3 separate regions of the Homo sapiens genome follow, and regions 2 and 3 are each linked to region 1. Evidence: promoter capture Hi-C in 16 types of primary human blood cells and fetal thymus (Javierre and others, 2016). All regions are on one chromosome and are shown on one strand. Each heading gives the region's core, a stretch centred on a gene start or on the middle of the fragment in contact. The rest is flanking DNA. Distances are from core to core; before and after follow the strand shown. Region 1 holds the start of WWP1 (WW domain containing E3 ubiquitin protein ligase 1). Region 2 overlaps TMEM64 (transmembrane protein 64). Region 3 overlaps DECR1 (2,4-dienoyl-CoA reductase 1).

Region 1 (4,828 bases), core at 37-2,536:
GTTCCACATTAACCTACACACACACAGAAAAAAATTTGTTAAACTTATCAAATAGAAAAAGAAGGCAAAATCAAGCCCCTGGAAAATATTTTATTCTGAAAGAGTAAAAATGTCAAAATTATAACAGACACTACTCTTCTTTGGTAATGAAGGTTTCATATATTTACCACAGCAGAGAAAACTCCAAATCGGCAGAGCAAAGAAAGGACTGTGAACAAGACTGATCATTTAAAGGTCGTAAAGGTAAGGAGCAAACTACAAAATTAAATTTTTTTAAAAAAAGAACACGAAGATGAAAGGAGAGTCTGTAAGTCACAGACAAGATAAGGACTGGTAAAATCTGCAAGGTCACTGGAACCTACCAGGTCACAAAAGGTGGAGGTGGGGGTTGCGCTGGGGGGGCGGGGGATGGGGAGCTGCAGAGTCGGTGAAGAACGGAGAGTGATAAAAACATGTCAGAAAAAGACGTTCCAAAGCTGGAGTCCTTGGTTTGCAACGCTGAAATTGGGGTGAAAGTCAGGGAACGGGCAATGAGTCCATGTATTTGTGTTTTCAGGGAGGTGTTAGGGAAAGGTGGAGGAAGGCGAAGAGAAGGCTAAGGAAGCCTAAGAACTGCGGCTGCAGAGTCACGGAAACACTTCGCTCCGCTCCAGGATCACTGGCACAGGCCTTTGCCAGGGCGAACTCCGGGCAAGACCCGTGACCCCACCCCAGAAAACTCCCGACTCCCGGGCTGGAGAAGGTAGCCAAGGTAGGGCGGACCGTCCCCCGACGGGTCCTAGGAGGGTCCAGCCCGGGGGCGGACGGCGCCGGGCGCCCAGCACCGCGGCCAAGGCTCAGGGCCCGTGCCCCCTCCCGCCCTGCCCATTCGCACCCCCAGCCCCGCGCCGCGCCGTCCTTACCCGGCGCGAAGCTGTCGGCTCCCGGCAGCCGGGCGGCCACGGCAGCGGCACCTCCTCCTGCGGCGGGCGCCCTCACCCTTCCGCGCCCAAGATCGCCATCTCGCAGCAGGCGCGGCGGCAGCAGCCACCCAGGCGTCGGCCCCGGCAGCCCAGGCCGCCAGCAGCCACTCGGAACCCGCACGCGGAGCTCGCCGACACCCGACCCTCCCCCCACCCCCACCCCGTCCACGCGCCACCCCCAGCCGACCCCACACCTCCCTTCCTCGGGAGCGCGCCGCGTGGCCGCGTCGCCGGCGCCGCGCCCTAAGCGCGCGCCTCCCCGCCGGCCCCGGCACCGCGCGCTACGCCGCGGCCGCCCAAAGCCTCCAACTCCGGACCCGGAATCCGCCTCCCCCGAGCATGCGCAGCGAGGGCGCTCGGATGCTGCCTTAGGAAAACTCCGCTCCTCCGGGTCTTCCGAGCAGTCTAGCGGAGGGGGACGGACAGCCAATAGTAGGGAGGGGCGGGGCCTGAACGTGTGGAAGGGGCGGGGCCGCCGCTGAGATTTGGGAAGAGGCTGCTCTAAGCTCGCGCTGGGCACTGCTAATTTGACTTTCCGGTCGGCGGCTGATCCCGGAGCAGGACTTCTTAAGGTCCGGGGGCAAAAGTAGGCTGTCCATAAATACTCCTTGACCTAGCTGGGTGACCTCGAACACATTGCAAGAGTAAATAATTGCATTTAGCCATTGGTCATACCCGAAGACTTTCAGTCCATTTTTTATTAATCAAAACGTTCATCTGTGGAAGCCCCACCACCTAGTCCTCACTCACATCAGCCCGGTGATAAAGCAGATACTTATTGACCGAGTATACGTGTCCGCACAATTAACGCACACAACAATCTGACAAAGTAGTGTCTACTGTCTGCATTTTACAGAAAAGTCAACTAGTTTAGAAAAGTACTGTTGGTTATGTGTATTGCTTTTAGAAGAAAGGCCAATGTGCAAATAGAAGTCAGTGGGACCACATTGCTTACCAGGTGACCCGGTTTCTACTTCAGAGAAGCAGAAGCCTTCAGGCATGGATTTCTACAGCTTTTGCCCAACCACCTGACCAACCCCCATAGATTATATCTACGTCCACACCCAGACTTACTAGTTTTCCTTCTATCTCGGAGGCTAGATGTCCCTGCTCCTCTCCACTGCCTGCTCCCCACTGTGGGCGGTCCTTGGCACATCTTTAACTTCACCCTCTCCACTGCCTACAACTCCTCAGCATAATCACGTTTTAAGATTAGGTCCTAAATTTTCCCTTGATTTTAAAACCTCTGGTTCTCTCTCCCCTTCCATTTTAACTGAGCTTTTTGAAAGAACTGTGTACCAAAAACAACCCCAACACTTCATGAGTGTGTACAGAATTCAACAAGTATCTCTTGACTGAACAATGCACATTCCCGCCTACCTCCATGCATTAGTTCTTGTCCTCTGGCTTCATAGTTGAAATTGGTGCACATTATATCCACAAAGATCATTCGAAAATATACATCTGTGTCATTCCACTGCTTAAAATCATTCTTTGGCTTTTCGGAGCTCTCCTGACAAAGATTAACGTGATATTCAAGGTTCCTTTGATGCTCACATGCTCTATCTCTCCTGTTATGAAAAACTCTTCACAGTGCCCCATATGTGCCCACTCATCTCTGCTTTAAACATGTACTAAGATTTTCTTCATCTTTTTGCTTTTGCTGTCTGGTCCCTTTAAATAGATGCAATAATGTGCTTACAAACACGTCCTCAGAAATTCCGTAGGTATTCCCCAGCAGGGATCTGGACTCCTTCTCCAGAATGCATGCAGGCCTCCTCTTCCTGCTCTGTGTCTCACTTTCAGCTCCCCTCATTGCTCAATTTCCTCCCCGTTCAGAAGCTCTTAGTACTCACCTAGTCCTCAAGCTGACACCCAATATTGAACCAGCCTTTTGTTATTGACTGTTTGGTTTCAAATGAACAATATTATAAATAGTATTCCATAACCATTGTTCATGTCCTTATTAACTGTCTTAGATAAATTATTAAAAGTAATAAAAAAGTATGAACAAGTTTAGCCCTTTTGAAACATATTGGCAACTACCTTCCAGAAAGAGCATAGGCTCAGGTATCACATCGCCCAGCATCAAAACACAGCTCTGCCACCCAGTGCCACATTCTGACTTTCACAGGCCCTAGGTGCTTATACCTGTGTGGGCCTCATCTTCCATAAAATAATACTACAAAATATATTTTATTACTGCATTGGTATGAAGAAAAAGATATTAACATTATACATTAAAATATTTTCTTTGACCTAAATATTCAATTTTTTGCCTTCTGATTTTAAAAGAAATTAAAACATTTTTATGGGCCCCCGAAAGTGTTATAAGCCTGAGGCACTGTGTCTACTGTGCCTAATGGATAACCTGACCCTCCTGCTGCCTATGAGCTGAGAGATTTGGCCAATTGCTTAATCTAATTGTGTCTCAACTAGAAAATTAATATAGTGCTTCCACATGTTGTATTAAAAAATATATATAAATTGCTATAAATAACACGCATAGAGCTACTTAACACATGAGCATGGCACATAATCAAGAAATGATTGTCATAATGGTTATCAATTTTCCCACAACACTACATGACAGTATGTGATTGTCCTTCTTCCATGTGCCCAAATCATCATGGTATGTTTTCATATGTGTATGTATGGTAGCTTATTGTTTGTCCTTTGTCCATTTTCTTACTGAGGTATTTCACAAAAGGGTGCTTCACACAATGTAGATATTAGTCCTTTGTAAAACTATTGATCTTTTCCATTTTTGTATTCTTCCATTGTTTTTTACTTCATACATCTTTCCCATCCTGAGATCATATAATTCATCTGTCTTTACTTTTTTCTACTTGTTTGACTATTTTACTTTTTTCATTAAATAATTTAATTTTCTTGGATTTATTTTGCAATGATAATCTAACTTTTATTCCTTTAAAAATAGCTCATGGTATTCCCCCAAACCATTTGTTTAAAAAATTGTTCTCTAACTGTAGTGGTTTTAAAATAGGTCTACAGGCCGGGCACTGTGGCTCACACCTGTAATCCCAACACTTTGAGAGCCCAAAGCAGGTGGATCACTTAAGGCCAGGTGTTTGATACCGGCCTGACCAACATGACAAACCCTGTGATATGGTTTGGCTGTGTCCCCACGCAAATCTCATCTTTTTTTTTTTTTTTTTGAGATGGAGTATTGCTCTGTCATCCAGGCTGGAGTGCAGTGGTGTGATCTTGGCTCACTGCAACCTCCACTCCTGGGTTCAAGTGATTCTCTTGCCTCAGCCTCCCGAGTAGTTGGGATTACAGGCACATGCTACCACACCTAGCTAATTTTTTTTTTAATTTTTAGTAGAGACGGGGTTTCACCATGTTGGCCAGGCTGATCTTGAACTCCTGATCTCAAGTGACCCTCCTGCCTCGACCTCCCAAAGTGCTGTGATTACAGGCATGAGCCACCATCCCTAACCCTAATCTCGTCTTGAATTGTAGTTCCCATAATATCCACGTGTTGTGGGAGGGACCCAGTGTCAGGTAATTTAATCATGGGGGCGGTTACTCTCATGCTGTTCTGGTGATAGTGAGTGAGTTCTCACAAGATCTGATGGTTTTATAAGGGGCTTTTCCCCCTTTTGCTCAGCACTTCTCCTTGCTGCCACCATGTGAAGAAGGTTGTGCTTGCCTCCCCTTCTGCCATGATTGTAAGTTTCCTGAGGCCTCCCCAGCCATGCTGAACTATGAGTCAATTAAACCTCTTTCCTTTATAAATTACCCAGTCTCAAGTATGTCTCTATTAGCAGCATGAGAACAGACTAATACACCCTGTCTGTATTATATTTCCAAGAATAATTTTTTTAAATTTCTTAATAAAA
Region 2 (4,828 bases), core at 863-3,362, 4.3 Mb before region 1:
GGGGACGGCCCGGCGGACCGCCTTCCCCGCGGGGGCGGGGCGAGCGCGGCGGCGGCAGCAGCGGCGGCCTCGGGCGCCCTGCTCGGCGCCTATCTGGAGCGCCACGGTCCGCCCGAGGCTTCGGAGCTGCCGGAGCCGGGCGGGGCCTTGGCGGGCGGCCCCGGGAGTGGCGGCGGCGGCGTGGTGGTCGGCGTGGCTGAGGTGAGAAACTGGCGCTGCTGCTGCCTCGGCAGCACCTGTTGGTGCCGGAGCCTCGTGCTGGTCTGCGTGTTGGCCGCCCTGTGCTTCGCTTCCCTGGCCCTGGTCCGCCGCTACCTTCACCACCTCCTGCTGTGGGTGGAGAGCCTTGACTCGCTGCTGGGGGTCCTGCTCTTCGTCGTGGGCTTCATCGTGGTCTCTTTCCCCTGCGGCTGGGGCTACATCGTGCTCAACGTGGCCGCTGGCTACCTGTACGGCTTCGTGCTGGGCATGGGTCTGATGATGGTGGGCGTCCTCATCGGCACCTTCATCGCCCATGTGGTCTGCAAGCGGCTCCTCACCGCCTGGGTGGCCGCCAGGATCCAGAGCAGCGAGAAGCTGAGCGCGGTTATTCGCGTAGTGGAGGGAGGAAGCGGCCTGAAAGTGGTGGCGCTGGCCAGACTGACACCCATACCTTTTGGGCTTCAGAATGCAGTGTTTTCGGTAAGTGGGGTCCCGCTGGCCTATCCCTCTCCAAGTCTGTTTTTGAGCGGTCTTGTGGCGGCCCTAGGAGGGCGCTCTATCAGATAAATACCAGCAGAGAAGTGACATTGACGGCAGGAGTTACGATTACTTTCCATCGCAGCCTGGGAAGTCTGTCCTACACATAAAACATACCTAACGCGGAGCCTCGAAAGAGAGTTTGTTAGATAAAAAACTAATGTTTCTTTTAGGGATGGGAATGTAATTAAAAATGAAAAGCCCTCTTAACAATAGGCATGCAGGGACATGAATGGAAATGCCCATCTTTAATACTTGTCATCTTTTGTAGCAGCTTTGGCAACATTTAGGGAGGAAAGCTTTCTCTCTTGCTTACATAAATACATCCAGGGTTTTGATTCAAGTTTTTAGCGACATGGACCAAAGGAAGTGTTTCAGTAAACAGTGGAGGAGCTAGTTGCAGACTCCAGATTTTGGAGTTTGCTAAATTTGAAATGGGCTTTTTCTTCTTCAAGTAATTGTGCTTTAATGTGATGTAAAGAAGAAAATCCTACTGTTTATCTTTCTTTCTTTGGAGGAACTTCATTTCGAAATCACGGGGTGGTGAATAAAACAGAACAGATAATCTTTTGCTCAGTTAGCATATATTTTTCTTCTGTATCTGCACCATTATAGACTCTTTTCTGTCCTTGTATTCATATGTTTTGCTTACTCAGGTTTCTATAGCTAGTGTGCATCTCCATGCAACTGATTTAGGATAGAAACACTGCTAGTGAAGAGATCATCTTATTGGAAGAAAGGAATCTGGTCTTTACAAACTTTGTGACTTTGGATCAAGTTACTGACCCTGTCTGGCTTCACTTTTCTCTTTTCGAAAGTGAAGGACTTAAAAAAGTAGATTACCATGTTCCCCAAATTCAGTGATTCTAAACTACCAAGAGTTTATGTAGATTCCCAGGAACTTAACCCTTCAGCTAGACTTAAAGAAAACTTACTGAAATAAAGAGATAATTGCATTCAAAACCATAGGAATTGATGTATTTTAAGTGATTCTGATGCATTATTTTGTTTCAAAACGTAAATTATTGTTAGTTTCTGGAAACTTTCTCATTTTGTTTTGAATTAGGAATAATACTAACCAATCTGCCTCTTTGTGATGAAATTAAAACCTTTCTCTTTTTTCTTTTCTTTTAAATGCCTTTTGCAAACCTCTTGATTCCAAGCAACAGCAGCAATGACTATGGAATGGTATTTGGTAGAGGCAGTGGAAACAGATAAGGGGTTTTCTGTAGAGATAAAGTTTAGTGTTAGCAGTAGTTTGGTATAGTCTTAGTCTTAAATTTCTTTTTCATACCCTCCTATAGTATGAAATATAAACTTGAACTTTGACCCAGTCTTGGGTAATAATAAATAAACTGTCCCAGGACTTTGAAAGAAGGTTGGGCTAAGGAACCTAAATAGATTGATTCTGTTAGTTTGTGTTTCAATATAGCATGTATCCTTGGGCCTTTTCTTGTCCATCTACCGTGTGCCAACTACTGTCCTCGGCTCTTTCCACATATTTCTGATCCTTAAACCAGCCCTGCAGAAGTTAATTATGCACATATTATAGACTAGTGTCTACTAGTTGGGAGCACAGGGCTGGTGTTGTGAAATCCTGCTGTCTGCTTAGAATCTAGTGACCTTGGGCAAGTTGTTTATTCTCTCTGGGCTTCAGTTTCTTATTTGTAAAATGAGGAAAGTAATGATACCTACTTCCATAGGATTATTGAGAAGATTACATGAGATGAATACATGCAGCAGAGCCTGGCTTAACAAACACGTGTTGGCTTTTGTCGTTTCTGTTGTTATGACCCAAGGTCACCAAGGTACTAAATTAATGGTAGAGTCAAACTTTGAACCATGGTCTGATGGCAGTGTCTCAACCAACCACCTCTTTATTTCTTGAATATATATTTAATGCCTGGTGTAGTCATGGGTAAATAGTAAGGGCTCATTATGTATTTATCGACTGACAATAAGGTAGGCTTTTCTTTTGATTTTGTCTCTTACATATTAAGTATATAACTAAGAGGTTGTATTTTGTGCTTGGTAATAATTTAAGGTAATCATGTAGTTGAAACTGAGCTTGACAAGGGACAAATCTCAATTTAGCATTGTGTGGTCAATAAAAAAGAAGGGAAAAAAAAGAAAAATGGCCTCTTGCAATAGGTATTATTGTCACCATTTCACTGAGAAGAAACAGAGGCTCAACCATCCAGGAACTTCTTCAGTCACCCACCTACCAAGTGGCTGAGCTAGGGTTTGAACCCAGGATCAGCTGATATGGTGCATCTTACTGTAAAATTTTGACTCAGCCATAGCAGGGTGGACTGTGAAGCCCCTGGATATGGTCTGTTATGTCCTGTTTATACCTATTGTTCTGAACTGCCTGCTTACAGAAGTAGTCCTTTCAACAAAAACAGTTTACTGAATTCAGCCAAGATATGTGAAAGAAAAGAAAGCTTAGTTAAGGCTGATGTTGGTTTTAGTCTGACTTGACTTTCTGCCTTCTAGAACTCCATTCTGCCTCCTCATGTATCCTCTCCACCTCATACCCCTCCTGCTGACCATAGCTGCCCCCTTTTCTAGGCATATTTCTTGTGTTTTCCACATCCCTCCCTATCTTTGAAATCATCCTTTTTTTTTTAAAGAAAAAAATTCCAGTTAAAACTCATTTTTTTTGTGTGCCCATAATTAGAGAAATTCATCTGGGCGTACCTCAAAGAAGTTAGGTGTAGTGGTCATGTGAGGCCCAGGCTTTGGAAATAGATGATCCTGAATTAGTCTGTGCCATCTGGCCTTCTCCATTTCCTCATCTGTAAAATAAAGTAGTTATGAGGCTTAAAAAAGCTGATACAGTGAAGGCATTAAGTATTTTGTCTGGCTCATAGTCACTTCCCAGTAATTGTTAAGTGTCATTATTGTTTGTAGTGGTGGAGGTAGTTGTATTCACATTTTAGAAGCAGGAGCTGATTGTAAAGGATAATATATGGAAGAAGGAAAGGTGCTTTCCCTTGCTTATCTCCTCTGAACCATTTTTTCCCCTTCTCCCATGCATGGTAGAAACTTGAAATGAGATTGGTTCCAACATTTACAGTGTCATCTTGAAGTAGTTATAGTTACTCTTTTGAGCTATACTTTCTGTTGTGGGATGTGTTTAATAATACCTGCTGCAAAGCTGTGATAAAATATATAGTTTGCTCATTATTTACTATTTCTTTCTCACCATCCTCTGCCTTCCAAAATAAGGACAGTGAAGTTGAGCTACTTTTTAAAAAAATTTAACAAATACCTACATTGTACTTAACTAATTCCTGGGCACTGTTTAATCATGCACACATAACTTATTTACTGTTCATTTCAGCCCTGATCCTCATCTTATAGCTGAAGCAGTTGAGGCACAGTGGTGAAATAACTTGCTCAAGATTACACAGTTAGTAAATGTTTAGAGTCATTAACTTATCCAGGCACTAGTGTTGGTCCAAGAAGAGCTGGATTTCCCAGACACATCCTGATTCCAGTTATAGAATACTTGTCTTAGAGCACCTTAAAGATCAGACATTATGGAGGACTGGGTAAGGTTCTATACAGTTGACTTAGGTATCATCCCAGATGTTAGAGCAGGGGTCAGAAAACCACAGCCCAATTTTGTATGGCATACAAGCTAAGATTGATTCTTCCATTTTTAAATGGTTGGAAAAAATACCACAAGAATATTTCATATACATGAGAATTATATGAAATTCAAACTTCAGCATCCGTAAATAGTGTTACTGGAATACAGCTGTGCTCATTTATGTGTGTGCTATGTGTGTCTCCTTTTAAGCCAAAACAGCAAATTGAGTAGTTACTACAGACCCTACTGCCTACAGAGCCTGAACTGTTTACTACCTGGTGCTTCATGGAAAAAGTTTGCCAACTTCTGCCTTAGAGTCACACCAACAAAACAGCTACCAAGGCTGAGCCCCTGCAACTGTAGGAAGAGGCCCTTAATTTCTCACATATATCTTGTATTTTTATTTAACAGAAAAAAAATTTTTAAAGCAATAAATGGGTACTGTGTGTAAAATGCAAACAAAATAGAAATGAGTAAATTTTAAAGTGCAAG
Region 3 (3,239 bases), core at 1-2,500, 3.7 Mb before region 1:
AAATAAAACTACTTGCAAGAGCAAAGGTCCCAAAAAATGAGGACGTAATGAGTCACCACTGTACCTAATATCGCCTGGTCCAATTATTTCTTCTTTTTCTTAATGTTTTATTAATACATAACATTTTAACCTATTTATGGGGTACATGTGATATTTTATTCCATGCATAGAATGTGTAATGATCAAGTCAGGATATTTAAGATATCCACTAGATCCATGATTTCTTCTTGCCTCTTGCCCAACAACATGAGCTTGGACTTTTGTTCTTGATCTATTTCATCACATTTTTGCCTGTTTCATTAACAGCATATAAACAGGTCTCCTGTTTACTGAAAAGAACTGAGAGAGATTTTTCTACCTCTCTCATCTTTACCTCAATATCCCTGTTACATCTGCACTGCCTTTGTGTTCTAGAAAAATTAAGATTTAAATGTGAGCCAGAAAAAAGGAAATGGAGACTCATCAGACAGAAGTCATTAAGTGTACATGAGAGATACCGAGGGCAGTAGAAATTAAGAGAAGACAACATATTCCACACACATTTAACATGTAAATTAGCCTGAACCCAGAACCCAACCAGCCAGACCTGGCAAGTAAGGTGAGAGCTGTGGAAGGTAACTGAGTTCTAGTTTTAAGTGGCTGCATGCAGAGTGATGCTCTGACTGAAATGACTGGGTTGACATGAGAAGACCAAGTTGGAGCATTGAGGATAATGAGTTCTGCATCAGAAATGCTGCACTTGGGATGCTTCTGGAATAGTCAGGTAGAGATATCTAAGCTGCAGTAGGAAATATGGTTTTGAAGCATGAAGAATAAATTAGGGCTAAAGGTAAATGGCAACATCATTTCATCATTCCAGCAATTATGAAAGCCTACAGTTCTATCACTGCTTTTATGTTACAATGCAGTGTGAGGGTTTCCCAGACTGGAAGGGATAAAAGTGCAGTTGACCTTGTATTCTAGACTTACTTATCATTACCCTGGCACTTCAATCTCAGAATGATTCATCAACTTAGGAAGAGAAGAGCGCAGGACAGCTGAGAATGCTGATCATTTTCTACCTAGAATTTTCTGCAAAAACTAAAAGTTGCTAAACATCTATTGCATGCTTTCTACCATGGGCTGTAAGAAACTCTGGATAACTTTAAAATTCCCCCCTCTTTTGATGTCATTATCATGACCTTTGGGAGATATCTGAGATCTAGATTATTTTTTGTAATAATATAAAGTTTGCTTTGTAGTTTGGGCAGGAAGTTTGTTTGAAATTTCTTCAAATGCATCCTTAAGCTACAAGGCCAAGATTCATCCATTAACCCCACCCCCACCACCTGCCCTGCCCTGCCCCACCTTGGTGACTCCCTCTCCTCTTCACCTGATACATCCCATCCGTCTATAAGCCCCATGCCTTTTACCTCCCCAGTGTCCCTCTATATCCACCACCTGATTTCAAACCCCTATCTCACAACATTCACAAACATTGGGGGCCTATTCTGTGTCATCTTTTAACTGATCTTCCGAGGACTGCTAATGGGATCATGTTACTTCTCTTCTTAAGATCTTCTAAGGGCTCCTGGTAGCTGCAGAATATCCAGATTCCTTCGCTCCCCATAGCATATGTCTTCACGACCTAGCTCCTGTCCCTCTCTTCTGCCTCATCTCCCCTGAAATTTACACTCAGGAAAACAAAGTACTCAGGATTCCCCAAACATGAACTCTTTCCTACTTTCCTGTCTTTACACAAATTGCTCCCTATCATCACCCAACATTCATCATTGAAACCCAGCTGTGAGAGCTCTGGTGCTTTCCCTAACACTCCCAGGGAGAATTAACATTCTCTCCTCTACTTCTGTAGCTTATTTATCTATATACCACTTGAGGAGTCCCAGACCCTACTGACATTTCAGGACTGATGTCACTTACTCCTCTTCTCCCTCCAGCCCCCACTTAATGTCCTCACTCAAGAGAGTGGCACTGTCCTTAGCTCAGGGGCCAAAGACAGAAATCTGGGCTTCATCTTACCCCATACATTCAAACCAAGCCCAGTTCGTTTTAGTCCCCAGTAGCTCTAATGCTATCCTCAGTTCAGACCCTCATCACTGGTGTTTGGATGTTTGGTCTCCCTACTTCCAGTCTTACCTGATGATATCGTATTTCTGCTCACAATTTTGATGGCAACATGTCACCACTGAGCATAGCCCCATCTCTCATCCTCACCACCAACCAATCACCAAGGCCTCTGATTTTACCTCCTAAATATCACTCAACTTTGAGTGTCTCCAAACCCAATGCATGCCCTCGTTGAGGCCACCATCACCTCTCAACAGATGAGAGGATTACTCAGGGTTTAGCCATTTGTCTCCACTCCCACCCTGCAGGACAAAGTTCTAACTCTTTAACGCAGCCAACAGGCTGCTCACTAAGCTGTCTCTCACCTCCTGCCTCCCCACTCTCTGTTGATAACCTTTATGCTGGGCCTTCACATAGACTACTCTCCTGTTTAAAACATTCTTACATCTCTCCCTTTGGCTAACTCCTACTCATCTTTCAGGTCTCAGCTTTGATATATACCAAACAACAACACTCTCATAAAACTGGACATACCTCCCCCATGAGCAGGAGATGCTTCTTCCCCAGTCCTGACATCTCCCTACTGTGAGAAGTTCAGGTAGTACAACTCCAGGCTTCTTTCTGTCCCCTTAGTCAACCTGCTAAGGATGTTTGGATGTTTGTCCCTTGAAAACTCATGTTGAAATGTGATCCCCAATGTTGGAGGTGGGGTCTAATGGGAGGTGCCTGGGTTATGGTGGCAGATCCATCATGAATGTCGTAGTACCATCTTCATCCTGGCAGTGGCAAGTGAGTTTGCACTCTATTAGTTCCCACTAAAGCAGGTTGTGAAAGAACCTGGCACCTCCCAACACCCTCTCACTTCCTCTCTTGCCGGCACCTCCCAACACCCTCTCACTTCCTCTCTTGCCGGCACCTCCCAACACCCCCTCACTTCCATCTCTGCAAACTCCAGCTCCCCTTCACCTTCTGCCACAAGTGCAAGCAGCCTTAGGCCGTCACCAGATGCAGATGCCCAGTCTTGAACTTGTCCAGGCATCAGAATCATGAGTCAAACAAACCCTTTTCTTTATAAATTACCCAGCCTCAGGTATTCCTTTATAGCAACACAGACTGAGGTACAATCTGTCTGTGCAGAGACAGTTGATATGACTGGTAAATTTTGACAGGAT

The links. Contacts are between HindIII fragments. The CHiCAGO score rates a contact against its expected background, and 5 or more counts as called.
Region 2: a fragment that was not itself captured here is called in contact with the fragment with the promoter of WWP1 in region 1 in 1 of 17 cell types (naive CD8 T cells); the score reaches 6.4 in naive CD8 T cells.
Region 3: a fragment that was not itself captured here is called in contact with the fragment with the promoter of WWP1 in region 1 in 1 of 17 cell types (non-activated CD4 T cells); the score reaches 7.2 in non-activated CD4 T cells.

The regions. Positions count from the first base shown.
Region 1 is chr8:86,339,005-86,343,832 of GRCh38, reverse strand. It overlaps WWP1 (WW domain containing E3 ubiquitin protein ligase 1), which reads right to left and starts at 1,286. Exons shown (of 25, transcript NM_007013.4): 1 at 903-1,286. WWP1-AS1 (WWP1 antisense RNA 1) reads left to right here. Exons shown (of 6, transcript XR_007060994.1): 2 at 173-243; 3 at 557-751. RefSeq lists a silencer at 736-1,195. The HindIII fragment of the contact is 10,725 bases long and covers 1-4,828 here.
Region 2 is chr8:90,640,964-90,645,791 of GRCh38, reverse strand. It overlaps TMEM64 (transmembrane protein 64), which reads left to right. Exons shown (of 3, transcript NM_001008495.4): 1 at 1-681. Among named protein-coding and RNA genes, the nearest start is that of TMEM64, 2.7 kb to the left of the region's middle. RefSeq lists a silencer at 1-242 and an enhancer at 353-682. The HindIII fragment of the contact is 2,145 bases long and covers 1,040-3,184 here.
Region 3 is chr8:90,005,640-90,008,878 of GRCh38, reverse strand. The region is part of intron 1 of DECR1 (2,4-dienoyl-CoA reductase 1); the gene reads right to left. Among named protein-coding and RNA genes, the nearest start is that of DECR1, 5.8 kb to the right of the region's middle. RefSeq lists enhancers at 2,734-2,793, 2,954-3,239. The HindIII fragment of the contact is 5,232 bases long and covers 1-3,239 here.